Regions from separate parts of the Homo sapiens genome. Here all the other regions are linked to region 1. The links are contacts of gene promoters, found by promoter capture Hi-C in blood cells and fetal thymus (Javierre and others, 2016). All regions are on one chromosome and are shown on one strand. The core of a region is centred on a gene start or on the middle of the fragment in contact, and the rest is flanking DNA. Distances in the headings are between cores, read along the strand shown.

Region 1 (3,438 bases), core at 160-2,659:
TTTCATGTATGTTACATGTATGGCACACCTCAACCAGTATGTTAAATTTTGACTGGAAATACTTTCTTTTTATTTGTTTTTATTTTTTGTCTTAGTGTTCTTCAAAATGATTTTTATTTAGAACACAATTTATTATTGCAAAAGTAGATTCTATATCCAAGTTGTTCTAAATACTAAAAAAGTTTTCCAATAGCTTACTGAACATTAGTTTTTATATTTAAATAAAAAATGAGATTTAAAATTCATTTCTTCAATCACACTAGCTTCATTTCATATATTCAATACACGTAAGGCAGTGTAGAATTGGAGCTATGCGAGACCAAGCTGGGTTAGAATCCTGACTTGGCCTCTTTCCAGCTGCTTGTCCTTGGGAATTTACCTAGCCCTCTCCAAGCTTCAGTTCTAGCTTCGAATTGCAGGCGGGGAAACACCACACTGAATATGTTTTAACTCCTACCTGCAAAGCTAACAGCAGAAGACAAACACCCGCTATTTGTTTCTCCCTTCATGGAAGTGGTGGACTCACTGCATGATATAATAAAAATCAGAACCAATCAACGTAGGGATAGTTAAGTAAATTTCTTTATTCCATACTCTGAAGCCATAAAATACTAATAACTAATTAATCACTAATTTATTTAATCACCAATTAATATTGAAATCGGTTGTTATTAAGGAAGAAAACCGTAATATTAGGAATAGCACGACGGCTGCCCGTGTGCTCAGGAAAAACCTAGAAGGGTCTGCCACCCATCCATTAACAGCGGTTATAGGAAGCAACAGAATGGGGGCAGGGCCCAGCCGGCACACGCTTCAGTTTATATTTCTTGTCAGTTAATTTCCAAAAACGTTGTTCTAAAAAGGAGATATAATACTGTTTTAGTTTAAGGGGCAAATCTCAAATGTGCTGAAACGACTACGCTTTTCCCTCAGTCTGGAATGTGATTTTAAATCTAGCTTAACTATACTATAATAAAAGGCCACATGAAAATACTTTGTCAGAACGAAAAACACGCCGCCTTAAATCCGCTTTCGGTTGGCGGTTTCCCGCCAGCGGAACGGAAGCAAAACCGCCTTTGACGTCAAGGGAAGAGTCCCCTCCCAGTTACTACGGTGAAGTCTATGCGGCCATCTTTACTGTGGTCATCTCGTACCAAGCGTGTCGTAGTGGGGCTGTTGGGGCCCCACAGAAAGTCAGCGGAACGTGAAATGGGAAAGGAATCATGCGACTCTGTAATAAGAAGCTGACAGAACCATGAAGGATCAGGGACTGAAAGCATTAGATAAGTTGTTAGTGGGATGCAGGTTCCACAGGCAAGCGGAACGATTCAAGCGAATTAGTAAAGTTTCTGCCCGGATCTTGAAAGCCGCTTCCGTTGCTCAGCGGAAGTGTCGGTCGCAAGAGGACAGACGCCTCGAAGAATCCGCTATCGGCTGTCTGCACAACCGGAATCATGTCGAGTTTGGCGGTGAGAGACCCGGCAATGGATCGATCACTGCGTTCCGTGTTCGTGGGGAACATTCCATATGAGGCAACTGAGGAGCAGTTAAAGGACATTTTCTCGGAGGTTGGTTCTGTTGTCAGTTTCCGGCTGGTATACGATAGAGAGACGGGAAAACCCAAGGGCTATGGCTTCTGCGAATACCAAGACCAGGAGACCGCGCTTAGTGCCATGCGGAACCTCAATGGGCGGGAGTTCAGTGGGAGAGCGCTTCGGGTGGACAATGCTGCCAGTGAAAAGAATAAGGAGGAGTTAAAGAGCCTTGGGCCTGCAGCGCCCATTATTGACTCACCCTATGGGGATCCCATCGATCCAGAAGATGCCCCTGAATCGATTACCAGAGCAGTAGCCAGTCTCCCCCCGGAGCAGATGTTTGAGCTGATGAAGCAGATGAAGCTCTGTGTCCAAAACAGCCACCAGGAAGCTCGAAACATGTTACTTCAAAATCCACAACTGGCTTATGCACTGTTGCAGGCACAAGTAGTGATGAGAATCATGGATCCAGAGATTGCTCTGAAAATTCTGCATCGGAAGATACATGTCACACCACTGATCCCAGGCAAATCTCAGTCTGTGTCTGTCTCTGGCCCTGGCCCTGGCCCTGGCCCTGGGCTCTGCCCAGGACCTAATGTTCTGCTGAACCAGCAGAATCCTCCAGCTCCTCAGCCTCAGCATTTGGCTAGAAGACCTGTGAAGGACATTCCTCCTCTGATGCAGACTCCTATCCAGGGTGGAATTCCAGCTCCAGGGCCAATACCAGCTGCAGTTCCCGGAGCTGGTCCTGGTTCCTTAACTCCTGGAGGAGCAATGCAGCCCCAACTTGGAATGCCAGGGGTTGGCCCAGTGCCTTTAGAGCGGGGACAAGTGCAGATGTCAGATCCTAGAGCTCCTATACCTCGCGGACCCGTGACTCCTGGTGGTCTGCCTCCTCGAGGACTGTTAGGAGATGCTCCAAATGACCCACGTGGAGGGACTTTGCTTTCAGTCACTGGAGAAGTGGAGCCCAGAGGTTATCTGGGTCCACCCCATCAGGGTCCCCCCATGCATCATGCCTCTGGTCATGACACTCGTGGCCCTTCCTCACATGAGATGAGGGGAGGGCCATTAGGAGATCCCAGACTGCTAATTGGAGAGCCCAGAGGCCCCATGATAGATCAAAGGGGTCTACCTATGGATGGTAGAGGTGGTAGAGATTCTCGAGCGATGGAGACTCGTGCCATGGAAACTGAGGTCTTAGAGACACGTGTAATGGAGAGGAGAGGAATGGAGACCTGTGCGATGGAAACCAGAGGGATGGAAGCAAGGGGCATGGATGCAAGAGGATTGGAGATGAGGGGCCCTGTCCCCAGTTCAAGAGGCCCTATGACTGGTGGAATTCAGGGTCCTGGTCCCATTAATATAGGGGCAGGTGGCCCTCCTCAGGGACCCAGACAGGTCCCAGGCATTTCAGGGGTGGGGAATCCTGGAGCTGGTATGCAGGGTACAGGCATACAAGGAACAGGCATGCAGGGAGCAGGCATACAAGGAGGAGGGATGCAGGGGGCAGGCATACAAGGAGTCAGTATACAAGGAGGAGGTATACAAGGAGGAGGTATACAGGGGGCAAGCAAGCAAGGTGGAAGCCAGCCTAGCAGTTTTAGTCCTGGGCAGAGCCAGGTCACTCCACAGGATCAGGAGAAGGCAGCTTTGATCATGCAGGTTCTTCAACTGACTGCAGATCAGATTGCCATGCTGCCCCCTGAGCAAAGGCAGAGTATCCTGATTTTAAAGGAACAAATCCAGAAATCCACTGGAGCGTCTTGAAAGGTTTTAGAAAATATTTGGCTGTAGTCTCAAATTTTATTCTGTAGCATGGAGAATGGGTGCAAAAAGCTGACTTCTGTATCCCCACACTTGGATTAGGGTTTCCCTCCTCCTAGAACCTAATCTTATTTTT
Region 2 (3,527 bases), core at 444-2,943, 1.1 Mb after region 1:
TTTCTAGTGTGGGGTGAAAAGAAGCTCCACTCATTCCCCTTCCTGAGATATCTTGTCTCAGGAAAATATCTTGTCCCAGTTTCTTGGGGCTCAAATTTTGGGAAACAAAGGCAGGAAATCTAACAGGCTTTCTGCTGTCACTGGAGGCTAGGAACACAGGCCAAAACATCTGTTGGAATGGGGACAGGTTTGAGGGAGAAGAAAAAGAAGGAAAATGAGATATATAGTGATGGAAAAAGTAGATTATTCCAACATGTTGTCTTGGAATGACAGCTAACATTATTACATGCTCACACAGTATGCCAAGGGCTCTGGTAAGTGTTTTATGTGGATTATTATGGAGAAATGCTCACAACCTGAAAATAAGTTGGTATTGTTACTCACATTTTACAGGCAAGGAAACTGAGGCTCCAGGAAGTTTATTCATTTGACCAATGTTACACAGTTAATAAGTAGCAGGGCTCAGATTTGTGCCCAGTTTCTGATTCCAAAGCCCATGCTTTTAACTACTGCAGGAAAAGATAGTGATGTTTAAGATCTTGCAGGATAGGAAAGGGTATGAACCCATTTTAGGACTATTTTTCTAACCATGGGGATTGAAATAAAAAAGAATACAGGGCTTAAGCAGTGGCCTCAGTCAATAGAAACATTCAGTTAACCAGGATTCCATGAGGCTTTTCTGACCTGGCCACTTTGCGCTCCAGCTGTGGTGGTTTCTCCTCCTAGTTCCCAGCTGTGTTCCTGTCTCTGGTTCCCTGAGTGTTGCTCTCACTGTTTTTCTTGGCACCTTTATCCTGGTGGTTCTACCTCTTCATCTTTCTCTTTCTTGCCCCTGGCTCCACTCCATGACTTCTGGTTCATGATGAAGGAATTTATGCTTCAATCTTGCAGTTTTCTTTGAGAGCTAACCCAGTGGCCTTTAGCTATGGCTCATGCCAATGGCCCTTATGGGTTCTTTCATTTTTGCCTACTAGGTTTCCCTATGAAGTTCTCCAATGCTCTTTCCCAGCTCCCAGATGCCCACCATGACCAGCCCTCCAAGGTCACTTGGTTTGGTGAGCATTTAAGCCCTTAGGTCTCAGCAGTACCCTGGGAGAGGACCTGTTGCAGCAGGTAATGCCAGTGTCCATATATCCCAAGGCATCTGTAGTAAGAAACCATGTAGAGAACTGTTCCATTTAATGCATACAGTCAGGGCAGGCAGCCCCTTAACAGCGAGAGCTTTTAGCTCACAGAGAAGCCTTTAGCAACCATCCTGAAGTGAACAAGGGGCTTAAAATGATTGACTTGTCAGACAAGCATGTTTTTTAAACAACAAAAACTGTCGCATTAACCTTGTTGTAGCCCCAGGAGTTATCGAGCCATATATAACTACTACCACACTCTTTTAAAAAAACTACCAGGTTCAATGCCATTAAAACAGCTTGGCCAAAACCACAGATGGGTTGCCAAGGTACAAGTGAAAACAGGAAAATAATGGGACAGGTGGGAGTGGGGACATACACACACAACAGTGAGGCAATTCAAAGAGAAAATAATTTAAGTAGTTATTATAGAAACACATTGAAATTTGTGAATTTGTCCTTCTAAATTTCTCTCTCCTCTGCCTCACTTCAATGGTACGAAGTCCCTTCAGGTTCTGATGTGATTATTGATTATTGATCTTCCTGCCTTTACTACATGGTCTTTCTTTATAATTCCCCAAATCCTGTGAAGAGTTAATATCATCCCCAGTGTAGACACAAGAAAATGAGGCCCCAAGAGGTTATCAAATATTAGGGCAGGGTCTGGTGGACAATAAGTGACTTTTCTATTATATGACACTGGCTATAGTAGGTCCTAAGGAGTAGATTTAGGGATTTGAGGACGAGCCCATATACCTAGTTTAATGGCCGGCCTTTTGGTAGTCTTCAAATTAAAACACGTAATGTCTGTCCATTCTGCCTTTATGAAAGTTGATTAGGGCCAGAGTAGAAAGCACTATAGTTGCAAAATAAGGAACTCTTTCTTTGGCATTTGATAAAATTTCTGTAGAGCCGTTATTCTGGTTGAGGAGTTTTTAAAAAATGTTTACGCCTGGGCTGCACCCCATAGTAATTATATCAGACTCCCTTGGAATGGACCCCATGCATCAGTATTTTAAAAACTCCCCAGGTGTTTTACCCTGTAGCCAGGGTCAAGAACCAGGGCTCTAAAGCAGTTGTTCTCAAACTCGAACATGCGGAAGAATCACCTGGAAGGCCTGTGAAAACACTGGTTGCTAGGACCCACTCTCAGAGTTTCTGATTCAGTAGGTCCGGGGTGGGTCCCAAGGATGTGCATTTCTAGCAAGTTCCCAGGTCACATGATATTCCTCTTCTGAGGACCACACCTGGAGAACTAGGAAGGTAAGCTGAGTGAAAGTAAAGTCAGTCTATGCTTCTGCTCCCTTTCTTCCTGTTTATGAGGTTATAAGAAGTTTGTGTCTGATTCTCCTCTATGTCCTTCCACAATGCTAACTCACCCAACAAGAATACTAGAAGAACATCATTTGCTGTGTAAATGATAAATAGTCTGTGAGCATCAGAAGTGTTTTTAAATAAATCAGGCAATGAATCCCATCAGGCTTTGAATGAGTTCTAAGGAGTTTGCCACTATTTTCAGTAGGAAAATAGACATCCTTCAAAGAAAATGTATCCTCAAATTCAGTTGTGCTACTCATTCTAACAGCATTTTTAAAGCCTTTGCAGTTATTCCTCTTTATTATTTTTAATGAAGTCAAGTCATAAAGTTTGTGGAACAGGGAAAAAACCTTGAGTCTGTTAGGATAGGGTAATCAGATTTAGAAAAAGAAACAAACAAACAAACATACACATGCACACACATAGGACATCCAGTTAAATTTCAATTTCAGATAAATAATGAATAATTTTTTAGGATAAGTATGTCCCATGCAATGTTTGACAACCCTGATCAGGGCTAAATATTGGGATGGGAATAACATAAATGCCTACTGTGGAGAACTGGGACATACCATATCCATTTCTGTTTTATGGATACACAGAATTACTTACTTGATCTTGTACCTTGTCCATTGCGAACTCAAAAAACATTGGCTGAATTGTTAGAATATGAATACCTAAGATATAAATGCAATATATGAAAGTGCTGAGTGATTTCAAAGAAGGATGCTTGATCAACTTAAGATTGCAGTGCCTTTTGATTTAGTTGCCCCACTTTGATCATTGCCTAAACCAGTGATTCTCAACTGAGGATGATTCTCCATAACAGGGGACATTTGGCAATGTCTGGAGATATCTTTGGCTGTCACAAGTGGGTGGGGGAGGTGCTACTGGCATCCATTTGGTTGAGGCCAGGAATGCTGCTAAACACCTGATGATGTACAGGACAGCCTCTGGTAACAAAGAATTATCTGGCCCAAATGTCCACAGAGCTGAGGTTGAGAAATCCTGGTCTAGATAATAGTGCAGAGGATTTAGCAAATCTTTTGTTGAATTTTTCTGGCCATGTCCTGGAGTGAGTTGGAA
Region 3 (3,361 bases), core at 147-2,646, 1.1 Mb before region 1:
CAGGAGTCTGAGACCAGCTTGACCTACATGGTGAAACCCTGTCTCTACTAAAAATACAAAAAATAGCCAGGTGTGGTGGCACATGTCTGTAATCCCAGCTATTTGCGAGGCTGAGGCATGAGAACTGCTTGAACCCGGGAGGCAGAGGTTGCAGTGAGCCATGATTGTGCCACTGCACTCCAGCCTGGGCAATAGAGTAAGACTCCGTCTCATATAAATAAATAAGTAAATAAATTATAGCCATGGGTATGACTATAGGCTGAGTCCCAGGAGTCCTCCTAGTGAATCGTGGAACCTGGGAAGGGCCTTGTCACCTCAACACAGATGACATACTGTATACCAACTCAAGGCGTTGTGTGAATTAAGTGAGGTATTACCTATAAAGCAACTAGCACACAGAAGCACATATCAGTTAGTCAACAAATGCCTGTTCCTTCTCCCTCCCTTTGTCCTTCTACATCTTTCTAATTTTTCTCTCATAGCTCATTGCTTTTATTGATTAACAAATGTTTGCTGTGGTCCCATGTTTCAGGCAGTGTGAAAGATACAGGATAGGATGACCACAGTGAGCCCGACCCTCTCTCCTCATCTCACAGTCCAATGTCTGAAGTTGTCTGTCTCCATTTCTGTGTTTATATCTGGGCTGGCTTGAGACATCAGGGATGGGCAAGTTTCTGCATCTCTTCAGGATGTGCCTGTGGGCCCTCAATCCTCCCAGGACAAATCTTTGGCCAGGTCCATGTTTCCTAGGGCAGTTCCTGAGGAGGAAGTGTCCAGGCAGGCCCAGCTCCCTGTGTATCTGCAAGAGCCTCTTTTATCCTTTACAAGATGCAAGACCTGCTACCTGTGTTTCCAGCCTGGCATGAAGAATCTGGCTAAAATCCTAACCCCACAGCCCAGAGCAACAACCTCGAGGAGGAGTAGCCTCAAATGAAGCACCAGCCAGCAGACCCCAGAGCCACCTGACCTGGAGCAGATCCAGTGACTGGTTGTTCAGGGCTTACAACATAGACTCCTGCCTATCCAGAGGGTAGAGACCACAAAGTCAAATGGAGCCCAGAGTTCATCCACGTAGCATGAGCCATGACCAAGGGCTTGGTGTCCTGATTCCCGAGGTCTAAGTTCAGAGACCAGAGCAGAGACCAGGAGCTCTGATCTCCTAACCTTCAGCCATGATCTCAAACAACCAAGCCCAGAGATAGATGGACTGAGGCTAGACAGTCAGGACAGGGACCAGACCCCAAATTTAGAACTCAAGTTTCAAAGAAAAAAATTAGATCAAGGCCCTGGGGTCAGCCCAGAGAGCAGCTCCCAGAACGAGGAGACCAGAATCCAGGCCCAGAATCTGCAGCCCAGAGCTCACATCTTGGAAAGGGAGGAGAGGAGAGACAGCACTACTATTTGCGAGATGCCTGGCACCCTGGGAAGTTCCAGAGACCCGAGTCTGGATTTAGTCTTTCAAATGCCAAGATCTTTACTACACCTAACATTTGCAATGCTTTTCTTTCTCCTTGAAATGTACTCTGATCTCTCAGGGTATCCCTTGGCCCCCTGCAGTCCTAAGCATGGCCACAAGATGGCAGGGCTGACCCATACTTTCCCTGTGGGACACAGCAAAGTTTGTTCTTCCCTCAAGTGCCCTGGGCCTTCAGGGCCAGGATACCCCCATCCCTCACCATGGCCCCTGGAGGCCATACAGAGCCGCCTGAGAAGACAATCCTCCCTCTCCACCATTCTATCGCTCTTTAAACAGGGGAGTCAACTTGGGGCCAAGTATTCCTGGGTGAGTCTGACCTCGTTATTCTAGGTCTGCGTGTGTCTGTCCGCACCTATCTCAGAAAGCAATCCTTCTTGGTCCTCTTTCAGCGCCAAGAATTTTTTTTCTTGTTTTCTCAGTGGGTAGAGCTTCCCGATTAGCACTCTTACATATTTACCATTACTAAATGCTCTCCTTCCGCCCATTTACAGCTGAATAACTGAGGCTCAACAAGATGAGGGCGCTTGTCTAAGTCACAACCCTCAGGTCAGGATGGAGTGGAATGAAAATGAGATATGTGTACATCTGTCCGTGACACCTTCCTGACCCCCTCACTTGGGGGGTCTGGTGACTGGGTACCCAACTGTATGCAGAGGGGAGAGGCAGCTGGTCTGTAGCCCAGCCAGCCCTGTGGAACCAGCCTTTCCTTGGCCCTTCTGGAAGAGAAGGTCTCCCTTAACCCTCCCCGACCGTCCCCCACCTCCAATTCAATAGGCAGTTCACTCTCAATCAATTCAACGCACTCTCCTCCAGGGTCTCTACTTTTCTGTCCAGGACAGACTCACCTGTATCTCCATCTTCCTATTCTAGAGAGGTGTTTGTGGGGATTGATTGGGTTCCTCTGAGGTAAGTGGGTCTCTTAAAGCTGCGCTGGGCTGGGGGCCGATGTGGATGTGTTGTGCTTGAGGAGGGAGGGAAGGAGGGGAAGAGGGAGGGAAGGAGGGGAAGAGGGAGGGAAGGAGGGGAAGAGGGAGGGAAGGAGGGGAAGAGGGAGGGAAGGTGGGGAGGAGGGAAGCAGGGAGGGGAAGAGGGAGACAGAGATGGGAGGAGGGAGGCAGGGAGGGGAGGAGGGAGAAGCAAGGAAGAAAGGAAGGAGGGAAAGAGGAAAGGAGGAAGGGAAGAAAGAGGGAGCCCAGCCTCCAGCCTCTGGGCCCAAAGCCGGCAAGGCCCACCCCTCTGCCTTCCTTTGCTGCTCAGCTTTGCCGCGAGGCCGGGCTGGAGGGACCCTTGATGTCACAGCTGCAGACAAAGGGAGCACACAGGGCCTGTGGACTTACCGTGTGCACGACGATGCGGACACACCTACTGTGCCAGGCATCAAAGGACTCTCAGCTCCCAATTTACCCTTCAAAACATGCTCTGTGATTAAACCACAGAATTCCTTTCAGCGTTTTTCGAGTGAGCACGATGCAAAGCTTCTCAGTAGAGGGCGCTAGAGAGACATGGCAAGAAGAAGGGGGCTCCTGCAGTTTCGGGAGGCCCCCTCGGGAGTCGGCCTGGCGGGTGGGAACATCTGGGGGCACCGCGGTTGGAATGCGCAGTCTGGCCGCGAATCCGGGGGCTTGCAGTTGCGCCCTGGCCTCGCCACCAACCCCCTGCAGCCCTCGCGACAGGGACACCGAGGCACGAAGCCTCCTGCCTGCACCTCTGTTGTGCTGCCTCTGCTCGTCCCTCCCTCTTCCCCCAGGTGTGTCTCCCGCAATCTTAGGGAAGCGGTGCCCCTCCCAACAGGGACACCGCGCTCCGGGCCGCCTGTTGCACCTACGACCCACTCCCGCGGCGCGACCACTGCGGCCAGGACCTGCGGCTTGCCTGGCCCACCTG
Region 4 (3,459 bases), core at 22-2,521, 1.1 Mb after region 1:
GAGCAGAAACTTGCTTTTCCTGCTCACCAGTGGTTCTGGCATGGCTCAGGAGAGATGATCCCAAGGTGGAGAGAAAACTTGGAAATATAAGTCAGCACTCATTAGAAGCTTGGAGTGCCATCATTACATCCCATCTTAGGAAGATGGCCTCATTTATTTTTGTTATTTTTCATTCCCCCTTCCATTGGCAAAAAAAAAAAAAGAAAGACTTCCTGTTCACCACTTATCCCCATGGAGGAATTTAGGCACAGACAAATTAAAAGTATATTGAGATACATAACCTGACAGTGGAGAGGCAGAAGATAATCTTATTTGCCTAGTTTAATTATAGCAGAAAACTGTGTTTGTAGGAAAAAAGAGCTTTGTACAGCTTTCCTCCAGCTGCCACGAGGTCACATAGCTACAATGTGTACCAAGCTTAGTACAGCACCTACACACATTAAGCTCTCAAGAAGTATGAATAGTTATTATTATAGCAGAAGTTTTCTGTCTTGCAATCCAGGCTACACTTTTTCCTATTTGAAAGAATGTTACATATATAAAACCTCGGGACGAAAACCTTTTATAATTTAAATATTTTGTAGGAACTCAGGATTTAGAAAGAACTCGGAGGTGAACAATACAAGTAAGTTGTATTTGGGAAGGAACACTGGTTTAGATTTTTCTCTGTGCTAGTTATCAGGACTCTCCTGTGACCCTGTCAGCCTGTAACAGCTCGTTTGCTTGGTGAGGGAATGTGGCAGGGCAGAGAGGATGGGGGGATTGCCAGGGGCCGACTGAAGAGGCTAGAGAGGCCTGTTCAGGTGTGGAGACACTCTCCAGTCTGGTCATTTTATAACTCAGGGTTGACAGTGGCAGTAAATATGTGTTGAAAATCCCCTATGGGCCAGTTTCCCTGGTGAGCTTTGAGATACAGAGATGAGTGCGATGGGGTCTGGGTCTTTGAGGGATTAGTGGGGAGACAGACATGTCCACAGATGATGTCATCACCAAGTAGTGAGTACAGTATCAAAGCTGCACACCTAGCCTCCCTGGGTCAGGGGTGGGATGACTGGACAGAGGTCACCTGCCCAGTTTCCCTGTGTCAGCAGAGTGCACAGAAGGGAATCCATACCATAGGTCAGTGTAGATGGAGCCAGAAGTGGCATTTTTTTGGTTTTTATTTTCTTTTGTTTTAGGGTTGAAAGCCACATGAGGTTTTCATTTTTAGTGACATAATCCTGACAGCAGAGACAAGCCTAGGAAGATGTGTGCTATAAGTGGTCAGCCCCCAAAGGGAGAATCAGAGCTGGGACTGCACTTCAAAACTACTTGGGGAGTTACAAGAGTACTTAAGAGTTTACTTTCTTTGTTTTTAAAAAACGTGGCTATGAGGTCAGGAATTCGAGATCAGCCTGGCCAGCATGGTGAAACCCCATCTCTACTAAAAATACAAGAATTAGCCTGGCATGGAGGCGCACGCCTGTAATCCTAGCTACTCAGGAGCCCGAGGCAGGAGAATTGCTTGAATCCACGAAGCAGAGGCTGCAGTGAGCCGCGATCACGCCACTGCACTCCAGCCTGGGCGACAGAGCGAGGCTCTGTCTCAGAACAACAACAACAACAACAAACAACAAAGTGGCTAAATGTTAGCTGTCTGCTAGGAATGTAAAACCTGGAGAAGATTAACGACTTTCTATCTTTAAGATAAATCAACTTTTAAAAGAAAGACTCTATTAAAAACAAAGTTTTATTTTATTTTCCCTGAATTTTTGGCTAAGTGTGAAATTCCCCTTTCATTTGTGTTTTCAGTGGTTCCAGTTCCTTGTTTTCTTTTTTCTCCCCTCCACTCCTCCTTTTCGCCAGCTGCTTATTATTCATTAACAAAAGAAGCTGATTTCAGCACTACCTTCCCCAGTCCTATTTAATTTCATGTCCAGACCACTTTATAGAAATAGCAATAAGCTGTTTGCATTTCCCAGGTTGTAATGGATATTCCTTCTGGCAGGCTGTCTCCATTAAGGGAGCAAAATGTGGATGTTCAGTCTTCTAAAAGTTTCATGCAGGTATTCTATGTGAATCCATGAAGACGGGATGTTATAACAAATCTCAGGTTAAGGGGTGGAGGATCCTCAGCTAAGCTTGGCAGGTGGAAGATGCTTAAATTTGGAAGGGAGTTCCCAATAGTCACAGATGGAGATGGAGGGATTGAAGAAAAAAGCCCTGGGGCAGGATGGTAGAGAACAAACCTCAAGAAAACTATCTCCTAAGGAAGTGGTGGGGAGGGCTAGCTGAAGTGGTACCCACCCCACTGGCAGGGGGCTGGGTGAAAGCAGCAGAGGCAGGAGAAATCAGGACTGGGAGGGAGATAGGGTGGGAAGGCAGGCTTTGCCCACAGCTTCTTTCCCCCTAACAGACACAGGCTGACAGTTTAGGCAGGAGTTGGAAAAGGGGATGGGGGGTGCCAGTGTGTCTGAGGCCAACAGAGAAGAGGAATGTTTTACTCCTGAGGAAACCAGGAGGGGAGAGGGAAGGGTGGAGGAAAGGCAGGGGGCAGCGGCAGGGATGAAGGTGCACAGGCAGGTGGAGGATGACTGGAGAGCAGAGATGCTTGGGATGCTGGAGAAAAGGCCATGGGACCAGAAGAGGATTGTGAAAGAAACAGTCTGTATAGAGGACCCACGGCCTTCAGCCCAAGTCAGGCTGTCCTGGTCATCTGAGACAGAGGCAGAGTAGGTGAGGGCAGTGAGGAAAGATGCTGCTGGCTGTCCAAGCACACTGGTGAGGTAGTAATGCAATTTCTGAGCCATTTGTAAGATGTCAGGACACCCAGGGTCTTCTAGATAACAGGAACTGGGAAGGCAAGGACCCAGGGGCCCTGATTTTGAAAGCCAGCTGAGGAGTGATGAAGAACAGTGGGCTTGGGTTTAAATCCTTTTGGGGCAGTGGCTTTCTCATGTGAAATGGGGATAATAACCACTCTGTCACAAGTGTCGTGGTGTGAAGACCCTTGGCGTGTGTCCACAGTAGTACAGGGTTGCATTCTGCAGTTGTTGAGGTGGCCTTGGGATGTGGCAGCAGAGGGTGACCCTGAGATTTCCTGTAAGAGAGAGTGCGTGTTGATTCCCTTTCCTCTCCTGGGTGGCGTGTTGACCATTCATTTGACTAGATGGACCATAAGTGAGATGGGCTATTGCACAGGCACTATCTGTACCCAGTTTTCTGGCCGTGTGTTGTCGAGATTTTCACCACGTGGACTGCATAGTCCCTTCCTCTGTGTTTCTACCTGATCTTATCCCAGAGCCTGTCCCTATTATTCCCCTGGCTATTAGTTCACTCTACACACCCCCAGACCCAAGTACACAGAATGTCCCCTGTATGCCATTGCTTTTTGTGGAAGCCTTTGTAGATGGCCTCCATCTCTAGCCTGAGCCTTCAGAATTGTGGAGACTGGCAGCTTTGACGTTGAACGAGGCCAGG

Evidence for each region. The method cuts DNA at HindIII sites, captures the fragments that hold promoters and counts their contacts. A CHiCAGO score of 5 or more calls a contact.
Region 2: a fragment that was not itself captured here is called in contact with the fragment with the promoter of CSTF2T in region 1 in 6 of 17 cell types (non-activated CD4 T cells, naive CD4 T cells, total CD4 T cells and 3 more); the score reaches 9.5 in non-activated CD4 T cells.
Region 3: a contact is called between a fragment that was not itself captured here and the fragment with the promoter of CSTF2T in region 1, in 1 of 17 cell types (fetal thymus). The highest score is 5.8, in fetal thymus.
Region 4: a contact is called between a fragment that was not itself captured here and the fragment with the promoter of CSTF2T in region 1, in 5 of 17 cell types (naive CD8 T cells, activated CD4 T cells, non-activated CD4 T cells and 2 more). The highest score is 9.6, in naive CD8 T cells.

Annotation. Positions count from the first base shown.
Region 1 is chr10:51,697,566-51,701,003 of GRCh38, reverse strand. CSTF2T (cleavage stimulation factor subunit 2 tau variant) reads left to right here and starts at 1,409. Exons shown (of 1, transcript NM_015235.3): 1 at 1,409-3,438. The coding sequence starts at 1,455. The coding sequence ends at 3,305. The region is part of intron 3 of PRKG1 (protein kinase cGMP-dependent 1); the gene reads right to left. RefSeq lists a silencer at 281-575 and enhancers at 329-1,017, 1,142-1,721. The HindIII fragment of the contact is 5,025 bases long and covers 397-3,438 here.
Region 2 is chr10:50,632,786-50,636,312 of GRCh38, reverse strand. No RefSeq gene overlaps it. Among named protein-coding and RNA genes, the nearest start is that of SGMS1-AS1, 9.6 kb to the right of the region's middle. The HindIII fragment of the contact is 4,046 bases long and covers 1-3,527 here.
Region 3 is chr10:52,778,505-52,781,865 of GRCh38, reverse strand. LOC105378306 (a long non-coding RNA gene) reads right to left here and starts at 2,708. Exons shown (of 4, transcript XR_945963.2): 1 at 2,323-2,708. The HindIII fragment of the contact is 3,116 bases long and covers 1-2,954 here.
Region 4 is chr10:50,610,855-50,614,313 of GRCh38, reverse strand. All of the region lies in intron 1 of SGMS1 (sphingomyelin synthase 1), which reads left to right. Among named protein-coding and RNA genes, the nearest start is that of SGMS1, 11 kb to the left of the region's middle. The HindIII fragment of the contact is 1,703 bases long and covers 420-2,122 here.